Linked DNA regions of Homo sapiens: region 2 is linked to region 1. Evidence: promoter capture Hi-C in human tissues and cell types (Jung and others, 2019). All regions are on one chromosome and are shown on one strand. The core of a region is centred on a gene start or on the middle of the fragment in contact, and the rest is flanking DNA. Distances in the headings are between cores, read along the strand shown.

What was found. The method cuts DNA at HindIII sites, captures the fragments that hold promoters and counts their contacts. A contact is called where the count stands out against the background at its distance.
Region 2: a contact is called between a fragment that was not itself captured here and the fragment with the promoter of ADPRHL1 in region 1, in 1 of the 25 tissues and cell types used here (dorsolateral prefrontal cortex).

Annotation. Positions count from the first base shown.
Region 1 is chr13:113,452,238-113,454,938 of GRCh38, reverse strand. It overlaps ADPRHL1 (ADP-ribosylhydrolase like 1), which reads left to right and starts at 1,451. Exons shown (of 8, transcript NM_001394807.1): 1 at 1,451-1,715. The coding sequence starts at 1,502. The HindIII fragment of the contact is 9,965 bases long and covers 1-2,701 here.
Region 2 is chr13:113,192,481-113,195,345 of GRCh38, reverse strand. It overlaps PCID2 (PCI domain containing 2), which reads left to right. Exons shown (of 14, transcript NM_001127202.4): 6 at 221-275. Among named protein-coding and RNA genes, the nearest start is that of PCID2, 15 kb to the left of the region's middle. The HindIII fragment of the contact is 3,442 bases long and covers 1-2,865 here.

The DNA.
Region 1 (2,701 bases), core at 202-2,701:
GCCCAGGCTGGAGTGCAATGGCGTGATCTCGGCTCACTGCAACCTCTGCCTCCTAGGTTCAAGTGATCCTCCTATCTCAGCCTCCCAAGTAGCTGGGATTACAGGTGCCCACCACCATGCCCGGCTAATTTTTGTATTTTTAGTAGAGACGGGGTTTCATCATATTGGTCAGGCTGGCCTCAAAATCCTGAGCTCAGGGGATCCGCCCGCCTCGGCCTCCCAAAGTGCTGGGATTACAGCCATGAGCCACCGCGCCCGGCCTGCATGCTGGTTTTGAAGTTTGTTTCTGAATCTCAGGATCATGCTAGCTGGCATGACTGTGCTGATGGCTGCCTCCACCAGCAGACAGTGGAGGGTGAGGTGAACTCACTGCTTGAGATCCTCCGTTTTAACAAGTGCTGATATAACGCCAGGCGGTTAAATGCTTCCTACTGTCTCGCTGTACACTACGAGAGTTTTTATCAGACGCATTTCTTCAGTCCAGGTGTAACTCTTTGCTTCCCCTGGGTCTGATGGAAACCAGGCCCCGAGGAAGGAGACGGGAGAGACACAGCCCTGCTGGGCTCCCGGCCTCTGCGGAGAACTGTCCTGGGGTGGGGTCGGGAGATGGACTGTTTTCCTAATTTATTTCAAACCAGGAACCCTGGCTGTGTGCATTCTGCCTCACCCCCCGTCTCCATATTTTTTAATATTCTTTTCATGAGCTAGCAGGGATGATGTAAATACACTGAGCTGACCGAGGGCCGGATGGGAGGTTCTAGTGAAGCCTGCGGTTTGCTGACGACTTTCCCCCTCAGTGCAGTCCAATTATTTGGGAGCCGTTAAACACCGCATGCTGAGAAGACACCGTCATTGTTCACACAGGAGCTAGATAGACTTTGTTCCCTCTACACTGCATTTTTTAAAAGTTTTCTATCAAAAACACATTTCATAATCGAAAAGTTTTCTAAATGATAAAACCGCATGTCACAGATTAATCTCAACATTATGTTGAGTGAAGGAAGCCAGACACCGAAGGCCACACATTGTATTTGAAATGTCCAGGAAAGGCAGAACTGTAGAGACAGCAGATGGGTTGTTGCCCGAGGGGTGAGGGCACGCCCCGCAGCGGGCGGCAGTGACAGGCACGCCTGCACACATCTGCTCCCGCATCACCCCACGCCACACACGGGGAAGTGTGCGCACTCCTTCCAGGGACAGCGAGAGGAGCCCCTGCTCTGTCAACGCTCTGAATGTGCTGCGGCTGCCGGCAGAAGCTAGCAGGCTCCTCTGCTGAGGAGCTGGTGCCTGTCCAGACGCAGAAGAAAACTGACACCTCCCACGTGGGGGACAGAAAGGTCCTCTCATTGGTGCCACCTGCAGAGATAGACAAGGAGCGCCTGGCCATCAGAGGACGCTCCTGACAGTGACACAGTGACCACTATAAAAGTCAGGCGGGCTGAGGAGGAGACAAAGGCCAGGACGCTCCGCAGCTGTTGGGGAAGAGGAGCTGCCTCCTGGGATGGAGAAATTTAAGGCTGCGATGTTGCTGGGGAGCGTCGGCGATGCTCTTGGCTACAGAAATGTCTGCAAGGAGAACAGCACTGTAGGCATGAAGATCCAGGAGGAGCTGCAACGTTCCGGGGGCCTGGACCACCTCGTACTCTCGCCAGGAGAATGGCCCGTGAGTGACAACACCATCATGCACATCGCAACCGCCGAGGCCCTCACCACAGGTAGGCTGGGCCCACCGCGCTCCGGTGTGCGGGCTGGAGGGAACACTGGCTGCTCGAGTTCTCCCAGTAAGCCTCCGAGAGCTTTGAAGGCAGTGCGGTCCTTCAGCGGATGGTGTTACCTGATACCGCTGCTAAAAGTGGCAATTTAATCTGAGTGTCCCTCAAATTTGATATGCGGCAGATCACGTTTCTCCTGTGGTTTCTCTGAGGGTGACAGTATTACTTTACTTTGCAGTTATTAAGATTCAGTTTTTAAACGTGACTTTTCACTTGTATTTGTAAAGCGTTAACTAGGCCTAGCACCTTCTGTTTCTAATAGAGTTAAAGCCAGTGAAGCCTCTCTCGGCCGTGCTGGTGGGAGTAGGGTGAGGGCTCACTTCTCGCTGCAGAGATTAAGCCTTCTTGTTCTGAATTCATTACAAAGGGATGTAAAATAAGCCAGTTTGAAATGTGAACCCATTAATACTGTTTGGGGATTAGTTCTAAATTCCAATGAATTAAAGTTAGAATATCATCTCCCAAAATGGTTCAGCTTGGAGAGTTGCCCATACACAAATGTGTTCTAAGAAAATGACATAAACTTGATTGGACGAGATTGGAGACAAAGCTTCTTAAAATACCTTTAAGTAGCAAATTGATTTTAGGATCAAGCTTTTGCATGAATTTCAGGGAAATGGCAGGTGCACAGACATGCAGTCCAGCTTTCCTACGAGGCATTTGCTCTTCAAAACCCCGTGGGTGCTGTTTATCATGGCAGAATTAAAATCTGAGGGCTGCAGCTAAGTCAATGAAATCTCACTTATGCGTTCACTCCACCATTCTGTTCATCTGCCATGGACGTGCCCAGTTTAGTTCTGTGCTCACAGCAGAGGAATGCCATCGAGCCTGTGGCCGGTCCCTAAATAACGGGAGAGCTGAAGCGCCGGCGATAAGATAAGGCTCCCGGCTTGCTGGAGACGGGGAGGCGTCCGACTGTTCACAGCCTT
Region 2 (2,865 bases), core at 260-2,759, 260 kb after region 1:
GGTGTGGAGCACCGCATTGTGGGGCCCCAGGATGATCAGGAAGTCTGAGGCCTGCAGCCTGCCTGGACAGAAGGTGAGGAAGCAGACAACTGTCAGAGTTTTGGATAAGTGCGGACTCCATTCTGGATAGTAGCCCTGGGTGTCCGTGTTCTTCCCACCTCTGGGGATGGAATCTTGGCCCACGTAGCCCCTCACACTTGTTTACTTTTTTGCCCTGCAGGGCTCTGCCTGTCATGTATGCAGTAGCGCTTGACCTTCGAGTGTTTGCCAATAATGTAAGTTTAATTTGCTGTCATTATTATTTTAAAACTAAAACTTGGTGACTATCTGTTGTTTAATTTCATGTCATTCTTCCCAGAAGTTTTGAGGAGCAAATTGGAGTTGAGATGTGTCTGGTATAGGGAGCAAAAGAAAGATATTGACTATTCTTTCTGGGTTAACACCAACAGATTTATATAAACATTTGCTCAGATTTCCACACTGTTCATATAGAGGGAGAGGTTCCATTTTGTGGTTAACCATTTATGGTATGTGTTATTTTTATGAAGTGAGTGGAACAACAACAAATGAGCTTATTCTGCATCTCTTCTACCTTTAAGATGTGGCCTGCTCCCCCACCAAAAAGAATTCAGCTTCATATAGATTTGGGCAGTAGGAGGGGGCTTCCCTGGGGTGAAGGGAGATCCTGGGTTTTATGGAGGCGACGTCCCCATGGGGACCCACGGAAGTCCCCATTATGGAGCAGCATTTGTCAACCTTTTGGTTTTAGGACGACCCCTTTACAGTTTTAGAAATGATTGTTGACTTCAGTTCCAGTCAGGATGCAATGGATTTCACCCTATTGTGCCTGCTAGAAACAGTTAAAACCCTGGGAGTTGTCAGGCCGGCATGGCTATGGGAGGTGGAGAGAAGAGGGGGATGGGGCTCAGAGTCACGTGTAGGGAGTCTCCAGGTTTCCTTTTTGTCTCCTGTCTGTCCTGGACTGGGCGCGTTAGAAACCTGAAGCCTTTCACCATCAGGCAGAGACAAAAAGCCCCAAGGAAACCAGGAGGCTGGGAAGACAGTCCAATCCAGCAAGACAGAACTCTGACCGTCACTGCCTCACTCCAGTGCCAGGCGCAAAGAAGTCAGCAGGTCCGTCCCACCCCATCTGCAAAGTGGTGCGGACTGGGGGTGGCCCAGGACCTCCACCCTGGGCTAGCAGTAATGAGGAGCTAGTCCCCCTCCCCACCAGGTGGATGTCAGAGGCTAAGCAGGGGACCTAGACCTCCCCGACTCAGTGGCTAAGGGGATGCACCTGTTTCTCTGCTTGCATGGTGAGGCCTGCTAAACAAGATAAATAAAGTCCATAGTCTCGTCAGGTAGTGCCTCAAATGTCCGGGATCTAATCGACACTGATTACCAGGAAAATCTCAACTTTCAGAGATTTCAAATGAGAAAAAACATTCAGCAGAAGACACCAAGGCTGAGATTGTACAAATGTTGGAATTATGTGACAAGAGTTTTAAACAGCCCTCTTGATTCAGCAAGCAATTTAGAACATGCTTGAAACAAATGAAAACATTTAAAGTCTCAACAAGGAAATAGGCGATATAAAGAAGAACCAAATGGAAATTTTAGAACTGAAAAGTATACTGAAGACCTCAGAAAGCTTTTATTTTTGTTATATCTATTTATATTTACTGTATTAGAAATTTTAATTAGAAAAGATTTTAAAATATTCATTTTAAAGCAACAATAATAAACCTTTTACATGTAACATAACTGACTTTTTAAATAAAAAATAACTATATTTCCAAAACAAAATACTAAGAAAAGTAGTGTCACATCACTTTTGACCTCTTTGATGTCTAGTTCAGCAGAGGCAATCTGGTCCCCTTGCCTGCTTCTGCACTTACTCTGTTGCAGTACACTGTTTTGAGTAAAGTGTTTCTCTGCCTGATGGTGAAAGGCTACATCACAAAGTTGTAGATGGAAAAGAGAGGAATATTCTCATAGGCTTTCCAGACCATTGAGATAATTCTTTGACTCTATATAGGAAAACTCCAAGAGGCAGTTTTTTTTTTTTAAAAAGGTTAGTTACAATGTGGCTTCTGAAGTGTACCAATAAACTTTTTCTACCTTTACACTGAAATCCACTGGTCTGCCTAAAGCACTGAATGGATTTCGTAATATCTTGTGTTAGTCATGTCTTAGTCCATTTGGGCTGCTATAAGAAAATACTATAAACTGGGTTGGCTTGTAACCAACAAGCATTTATGTCTCATAGTTCTGGAGGCAGGGAGGTCCAGATCAAGTCAGGGAGGTCCAGATCAAGTCAGGCAGGGAGGTCCAGATCAAGTTGAGTTTCTGATGAAGAGGGCCGCTTCCTGGCTCATAGCATCTTGCTGTGTCTGCACATGGTAGATGGGGCAAGGGATCTCTCTTTCCCATTCATGACAGCTTCACCTTCATGACCTCATCACCTTCCAAAGGCCTCTCTTCCAAACACCGTCACTTTGAGGGTTAGGATTTCAGCATGAGTTTTGGAGGGGACACAAGCATTCAGACCATAGCAGACCATTTGGAGTATATTAGCTTACTGAGCCATGCAGCACCTCCCAAGTGCTGATATACCACTGTTAAAAACCCAACCCCCAAACCCCTACCTTCCTTAACATCTCCAGGGGCCTCATCAGAAAAGCCTTGGAGTAAGGAAAAGCTGCTAAGCTCACAGTAGTTCATAAAAGTTTTCCAGAATTCTGGTTTTTCTTGAAAGCACAAATGTTGTCATTGGCAACGAGTACCATCAGTTGTTTGCCTGGAAGTGACAGATTTGTTCTATTCGTTTTGGAGAATATGGTCAGCCAGATGCCCAAGCCTGGG